Linked DNA regions of Homo sapiens: region 1 is linked to region 2. Evidence: promoter capture Hi-C in 16 types of primary human blood cells and fetal thymus (Javierre and others, 2016). All regions are on one chromosome and are shown on one strand. The core of a region is centred on a gene start or on the middle of the fragment in contact, and the rest is flanking DNA. Distances in the headings are between cores, read along the strand shown. Region 1 overlaps BTG1-DT (BTG1 divergent transcript). Region 2 holds the start of CLLU1 (chronic lymphocytic leukemia up-regulated 1).

What was found. Contacts are between HindIII fragments. The CHiCAGO score rates a contact against its expected background, and 5 or more counts as called.
Region 1: a contact is called between a fragment that was not itself captured here and the fragment with the promoter of CLLU1 in region 2, in 2 of 17 cell types (naive B cells and total B cells). The highest score is 5.3, in naive B cells.

Annotation. Positions count from the first base shown.
Region 1 is chr12:92,175,348-92,179,391 of GRCh38, reverse strand. All of the region lies in intron 2 of BTG1-DT (BTG1 divergent transcript), which reads right to left. Among named protein-coding and RNA genes, the nearest start is that of BTG1-DT, 31 kb to the right of the region's middle. The HindIII fragment of the contact is 3,695 bases long and covers 1-3,279 here.
Region 2 is chr12:92,420,159-92,424,131 of GRCh38, reverse strand. It overlaps CLLU1 (chronic lymphocytic leukemia up-regulated 1), which reads right to left and starts at 2,601. Exons shown (of 2, transcript NR_027933.1): 1 at 2,297-2,601. CLLU1-AS1 (CLLU1 antisense RNA 1) reads left to right here. Exons shown (of 3, transcript NR_144319.2): 2 at 2,959-3,118; 3 at 3,672-3,973. The HindIII fragment of the contact is 1,184 bases long and covers 2,531-3,714 here.

The sequences.
Region 1 (4,044 bases), core at 183-2,682, 240 kb after region 2:
TGAGTAGCTGGGACTACAGGCACGCATCACCATGTCCTGCTAATTTTTGTATTTTGTGTAGAAACATGATTTTGTCATGTTGTCCAGGCTGGTCTCAAACTCCTGAGCTCAAGGGATCCACCAGCCTCAGCCTCTCAAAGTGTTGGGATTACAGGTGTGAGCCACCATGCCCTGCATAGGGAGAACTTGCTGAAGCAGATAAAACTTATAGTTCTCACAAGTTCTTTACGCATCTATTCAAAGGTACAGGAGCAAAATGAAAGTATAAGGGAGAAAGAAGGACACAGACTTGGTTGGACAGGCCATTCTCACCCTCTAGATTAAACAGAAGATGGTCTCTTGAGTGCCCAACGCCTTGCTTCAAATAGAGTTGCATCCAGCATTTCAGACACATGGATATCAATGCATAACAGATTAAAATCCTGCACTGTAGCATTGCATTAAAAAAAGAACATTTGAGTCTTCTGCTTATGAAAAAATGCATATATTTTAAAAGAGGAGACTGTATTGCAAAATGTATATACATTTATGATTACCAATTCACTGGAACAAAAGGTCACTGATCTCTAAGTTATTTGCTTAATTGATCACAGGTTGCCATGACACATGGCAATATATAGGCTCTCTTTAAGGCTTCTTTTTAAAAGAAATATTTTATTAAATCTAATTTCATCAGTGTAATAATTTCTAAAACTCCCCTGCAGCTAAGTGGTAACTGAAACCTAGATGTTAACTTATCATTGCACCTCGTTTTGTGAGAATAACTTTGGAGGTGCAAGAACACTTATTTTCAGCTCTTGGAATGTGTGAAATGGGTGATCTCTAGACTTTGTGAAGTTCACCTCCACCTCCCCTCCCATCACACCTAGATTCTTGGTGAGTGTAGGTGTTATGTTTTCTGTGATAGAGGTTTTGTCCTCAGACAGAAAAGCACATGAGCAAAGTATGTCACAAGGATTCTATTATATTTCTACAACAAATACTGTTGGTATGTTCTAAAGCTGCTTCACCCCAGAGCCAGGCTCTGAAGCTGTATTGAGGATGTCTTTGTTTTCAGAAGGCCTTGGTATTTACTAAGGAGCAATTATTAATCTGACATAGGTAAACAGAGGGGTCTTGACCATGAGTGAAAGTGTAAAGTAGGTAAATTTTTCATTATCTTCTTATTTCCCTTTGCTATATAAAATGAGTCTGAATAAGCAAAGAGAACAGAAAGATTTTCAATGTACTTCAAAAAGTTTATTTATTTAAAATTTAATGTTTTATTCCTTTAAGAATTAGGAAATGGTAAGGAACCAATAGGATTGTCATGAAAAAAATATGCTACCATGACATCTTATTGCTTAGAAAAAGAAGCAAGTTTTTTCCAACTATTTCTTTTTCTATTTTAAAACAGAGATAGGATCTGGGTGCAGTGGCTCACACCTGTAATCCCAACATTTTGGGAGGCCAAGGTGGGCAGACCAGCCTGGCCGACATGGTGAAACCCCATTTCTACTAAAAACACAAAACTTGGCCATGTGTGGTGGTGGGGCACCTGTATTCTTAGCTACTCGGGAGGCTGAGACAGGAGAATAGCTTGAAACCAGGAGGTAGAGGTTGCAGTGAGCTGAGATAGCGCCCCTGCACTCCAGCCTGGGTGACAGAGTGAGACCCCATCTCGAAGAAAAAAAAAATAGAGATAGGGTCTTACTATGTTGCCCAGGCTGGTCTTGAACTCTTGGCCTCAAACAATCCTCATGACTTGGCTTCCCAACAAATACTATATTAGCATTATAGGTGTGCCCACTGTGCTGGGCCTCCAACTGTTTCTTCAAAGTCATTTTACCTGTCCAACTTTCAGACAAGGCCATCTTTAAAATTCTTTAAAATATGTAGCTTCTCAGGGTTCAAAGTAAAATAAAAGTGAAAAAAGTACAAAAAATTAAAAGTTTAAAAATACAATAGAAGATATGTACCCTACTTCCCAAAGTACGTATACATGCAAATGGATTTGTATATGTACAAATGAATTCACATTTCCCTTCCTCAGCCTCCCTTCCCTCAAGAGCCAAATCTATTCCTCCATTCTCTTTATTCCTTTTGTTTGTTTGTTTGTGAGGACAAGGTCTCTCTCTGTTACCCAGGTTGGGGTGCACTGACGTGATCATAGATCACTGCAGCCTCAAACTCCTGGGCTCAGGGATCTTCCTGCCTCAGCCTCCTGAGTAGCTAGAACTACAGGCACCTCTCACCACACCTAATGAAGCGACGTCATAGTCTGGGCGTAGGTACCCGCGGTTTGCCAAGAAGATTAAGGACATGGACACACGTGGGTGGGTTAAGGAGCGGAAAGTTTAATAGGCAGAAGAAAGGAGAGAGGAGAGAGAAAAGTAGCGTTGTGGTTCTCCCTCTCTCCCTCTCTCTCTCGACAGAGGGGCATCCGAAAGGGAAAAGCTGGCCTATGGCAGACCACAGCACATTTTATAGGCAGGCTTGAGGAGGCAGTATCGGATTTACGTAGGGCCCATGGATTGGTTTGACCAGGGGTGTCCCTTACATAGCGCAGGGAAGGCTGGTCGCCCCACCCTAATCTTATTATGTAAATGGGCTTTCCGCTTAGCCAGCACCATCTCATCTGCTCCTTACTGCACATGTGGCTAGCAAAGAGAAGGAAAGATGGAGCCGCCATGTTGATCATGCGTAGTCCCAGGTAGCCTTTTCCTGTTGTCACAACTGCCAGGGCATTCACCTGTGCAATCAGCTTACTTGTCTATGTCTGCAGCTCGATTTTACAGGCTGCTTTGTTAGAAAAGAAATGATCTGGGGGCTGCTTTTCTTTAAAAGGAAAACCTTATCAGGGACTCCCGTACTCTCACTATCTGCCAAAATGATTTCTTCTTAACTCCTGTATCACTGGCTAATTTTTTTTTCTTTTTTTTTCTGTAGAGACAGAGTCTGACTATTTTGCCCAGGTTAATCTCAAACTCCTGGCCTCAAATAATCCTCCTGCCTTACAAAGTGCTGGGATTAGGAGCGTCAGCCACCACACCTGGACCCTCATACTCTCTTTAGACTCAGACTCACCGTCTCTTGGGTTGGAATGAGATGGGGGCTGGGGTGGCAGTTGTTCTTGTCCCCTTTGTGTCAGGCTGGCTTCTGAATGTCTTGCTTCAACGCTGTCACTCTCTACAGACAGACGCACTGATCCTTCTCATTTTAGGGGTTTGTCTGTCAATCACTATGGAGGAAACAATAGCAGAGGGAGTCCACAAATAACAATAGGGCAGTTACAAAGCTTAATTCTTAAAAGGTCCTCACTCCCTTGCTGAGAGGGTTATAGAAAAAAGTCCTTGGAAGGCTGCTGCCTGACTTTTTTCTTTCAAGGTGGATCTCTTCTGATTAGCTTGTTGGTTGAATTGAGCTCAGTGTTTTGAAAATTATCCTGGGGACAGATTCATCCAAGTAGGTAATTTGCGTCTGTGAACTCCTGTGGACTGGGTAGTCACAATTTAATGACTCTGGTTTCACTCAAACTTGGATATTTTCTCACTTTGATGGCTACACAAATATCCCTGATTTTTTCTTAAGAAATAGGCAAGTGTCATGATTTTCTTACAAAATAAAGCCAATAATTGTTAAGAACCTTGTAAACGCACTGGAAAGGGGGTTATGTTTAAGGAAAGAATTGCTTCGTTCAAAAACACTTATTGCTTATCTACCTAAAGTGAAAACCTGCAGATTGGAAAAGCAAAAAGAATTAGCGAAAAGGTTGAGCACAGTGACTAATGCCTATAATTCCAGCACTTTGGGAGGCCAGCGCAGTAGGATTGCTTGAGCCCAAGAGTTCGAGACTAGCCTGGGCAACATAATGAGCCCCTATCTCTACCAAAAAAAGCAAGAAATTAGCCAGGTGGGGTGGTGCACACCTGTAGTCCCAGCTACTCGGGAGACTGAAGTGGGAGAATCACTTGAGCCTGGGAGGTCGAGGCTGCAGTGAGCTGTGATCTTGCCACTGCACTCTGCCTGGGTGACAGAGCTAGACCCTGTCTCGAAACGAAAGAG
Region 2 (3,973 bases), core at 1,352-3,851:
TAACTGCAATGAAATGTTAGGTCAAGTGTTATTTTTCCTTAGTTGGTAAAAAAAGAAATGTGATTTGTGGAATCTGTGGAATCTGAATGCTAAAAGAGAATTTACTCTCACCCTCCTTTATTTCCTTCCTCTGATATTTCTATTTCTCAGACCTCCCTCTTTTTTTTACCTTCTTCCTTTTTTTTTTTTTTTTTTTTTTTTGGTCACACTTGTTATACTCAATCTCTGGCACTTTTACAAAAATATTTTAAACTCTGCATTATCACTTTTCCCCAGTATTTTCTCTCCTTTTATGAAATTGAGCCCTATGGCTCATTTTATTTCCCTTAGCTTTTTAGTTAGATAGCATGACGTTATAATTCAGGCATAGTCAAAGCTGCAAACAGTAGCATAATGTTATTATACCTGAGTTAGACTGCCTGAGTTAATAGCCTAGGGTGACTAGCAGTCTTAACTTGGGTTAGATATTTAAACTTTAGGAGCTCAGTTTCTCCTCTTTAAGGTAGGATAATAGTGGTATACATATTTGGGTTATTTATGAAAAATAAATTTGACAAAAGTTAATTCACATAAAGGACTTAGCATAGTGCTTTGAATGGTGTCAGCTATATCATAATTAAAGATTATTTCCCCATGGGGCTATGGGATTATCTATCTGGACAACTGAGGATGGTGGCATGTAGCCCAGCAGTTTCCTTACATGCTGTGACCCAGCAAGCTGAGCCAGCTCTGTCTTAGGCACTTCCTGGAAGCAGGCTTATTGGTGTTTTCAACACCCAGAGTGGATCATTTGTTAACTCCTTCCTCCTCTATTCCGTACATTTCTTTTTCAGTAATAATCCTGTAATAATCAGTAATAATTATGCTTTTCTTGATTCGCTCTTTAGTTTTATAACAAATACCAGTTTTAAAAAGAAGAAAGCTGTAATTTCAGTGATGTTACTTAGTCTTGTAAAAATACTTCATGTACTTAAAATTGTGTCTAAAAAGCCAAAAATATTCCAGCATGAAGTTGACACTCTGTTTTACTATTCAAAATTTTAAGCACAAGTAAAAACTCTCAGTGGTTCCATAGAATGACAGAAGCAAGCAATTTTGGTTCACTTATTTTGTCTACACAATCACTGTGTTATCATTCTTGATTTTGAATCTGTGATTTGAAGAAGAAACATGTGGTACCCCAAAGACTAGGGCCATGAAATACCCTAAGTATTTACCTGAGTCCTTAAGAGTCAGGGACTGTATACCCGAATGTTTCCCATAATCATTTTCATGTTGAATTCAATGTTTGTTAAGGAACAGGTAATAAAAATATGCAAACTTGAAAGTATTTATATATTTAAAAGCTCAGTGGTGACCACAACAATTATTTAGAATTCAAACCAAGAAAATGTTTTTTCAGGGAAGAGTATTTGACCACTAGTATGATTTAGAATTATGATGCATGGCAATAATTATACCAAACTGCATTTCAGTGACTCTATTATTTTTTCAGATTCTCTACAGACAGTGCAGCCTAGTATCTCCCAGACTTGTACTTCCTATGGCCCTGCACTTGGGGCCCCACTGCCTGGTAGAAATGAAGGTTAGTGTTCGAAAGTATTTAAAGAATCCTGCTAATCCCTATTTTATCCATAAATGTCATCTGTCATAAAGAAACTTTTAGCAGTTTCTCAACTTCTGAGAGGTCTTGTGGGAGGTTTTGCCATAAAGTGCTCTTGTTGAGCTCTTGATATCTATAAGCTGATGCCCTGGGCTTGTCCCAAATGATGCCTCCCACCCATTCATCAGCAGGACACTATCCCAGTTCACACACCTATGCCCCATCTCCACATATGTTTCACCAAAACCATAAATTTTGAAATAGAGTCAATATAAATGTATAACATATTGTATTAGGGCTCTTCAGAGAAAAAGAACCAATAGTATATTTGTGTGTGTTTGTGTATGTGTGCGTATACAGTCATGCACTACACAATGACATTTCAGTCTACAAAGGATTGCATATATGATGGTGATCCCATAAGATTATACCATATTTTTACTGTACCTTTTCTACATTTAGATATGGTAGATACATACATACTTATCATGATGTTATACATACTTATCATGAGGTTACAAGCTACACCATGTAGCCTAGATGTGTAGTAGTCTATGCTGTCCAGGTTTGTGTAGTTACACTCTATGATGTTTGCACAATGATGAAATCACTTAACAATGCATTTCTCAGAACCTGTCTCCATTGTTAAGCAATGCATAACTGGATATGTAAATAAAATGGAAATTGACTCACACAATTATGGAGGCCAAGAAGTCCCATGATCTGCCATCTGCAAGCTGGAGAACCAGGAAACCTGGCAGTGTAATTCAGTCCAAGTCCAAAGAACTGAGAACCAGGGAAGCCAAAGGTGTAACTCCTGGTTTAAGTCTGAAGGCCCACTCACATCCAAGGGCAGGAGAAGATGATATACTAGATCAAGAAGAAAAGAAGCAAATTTTCCCTTCCTCTTTTTGTTTTATTCAAGCTTTCGACAGATTGGATGATGCCTGCCCTTATTGGTGAGAGCCGTCTGCTTTACTAAGTTCACCAATTCAAATGCTGATCTCTTCCGAAAACACTCTTATGGACACACCCAGAATAATGTTTTACCAGCTACCTGGTCATCCTTTAGCCTAGCCAGGTTGATGCATAAATTTAATTATCACACATATAGTCTTACCAATTAGTGACCTTTTCATTCTTTATGGTATTTAACAGTGAAGATTTGTAGATGGTCTGTCTACTTGGTTTTATAGGTTTTGATCAGCACTCAGAAGCTCAGTTTGATCACCCTAGTTTGGCCTGAGCTGAAAGCACTGAAACAGTGAGTTCTTTGGGTCTTACTTCTAGAAACCAGGAAATGAGAGAGATAGTGACTTGGTTTCTCTTATGTTTCCCTTTTGTTCTCTTCTCAGTGGCCTTGCTAACAAGTTTACCTCCAAACTATGAGATTTCAGAAGGAAAACCAAGAGCCATCTCTGCATATGTGAGAGCGGGCAAAGGAAATGTGACAAGGAGAAGAAAGAAGACACACTTGGGCAATGATGATGGGAAGAAGGAAGCACAGGAGAAAATGTAAGAAATGTACAGGTGAGAGAGATCAGGAGAAAGATGGGAAATGTGGGAGAGCAGCAGGAATCATAACAATAATAATGCCAATTTGGAAACGAGAACCAGTGTATAAAGCATACCAATAAGGCCAACGAAGTGCCAACGATGGAAAGCCACCCTATCAGGAGAAAGTAAAGTCATAGCAGATGTTTTATGAGACAGCTCAGAACACAATGACTGACCAAGAAAGCGGCACAAGTTAGAGGTGGAGAAATGACCCAGACCCAGACCTTTAGGGGTCCTGAACTTGGTTCATACCTCATGTCAGAAGGAGTAGTGACCAAAAGAAATTCTCTTTGCTTTAATTATAGAAGCAGGAATATACCTGATTTTGTATGTAACAGCATATGTTTAAGATCTGAATATTTCTATACCCAAAAGCATAATGTATTAGGGTTAATCATTTGAAATTGCCAATATGCACTCATTTTACCTATAAAAACTGTAATTTTGCATGGTTCAAACTAATAGATATGAAGATATTCTCAAGCAAACTTTTTTTTCTTTTGCCTTGAAGCCCATGAGGAAGATCCAAAGAGAACTTTGGCCTTAACTAAGCTTCCTACATTCTCCTGGAGTCGGTGGTTTATGAATGTGGTGCCATCTGGGGAACTGACAACCCCTGATGTGTTCACTCTGCTCGTCTTCCAGGTGAGAGAAGAAGAAGGCGAGAAAGAAAGAGAAGTTCCAGAATTTCACAGGCTGAGGGAGATGGTAGTAACTTCTGTTTATGTTGGTTTCTGTTTATTGGTTTGCTTTTTATTTTGAACTCGTTTGACTTCAGGTTCCAGATTTGTTTTTTTCTTTGTAAACGAGACT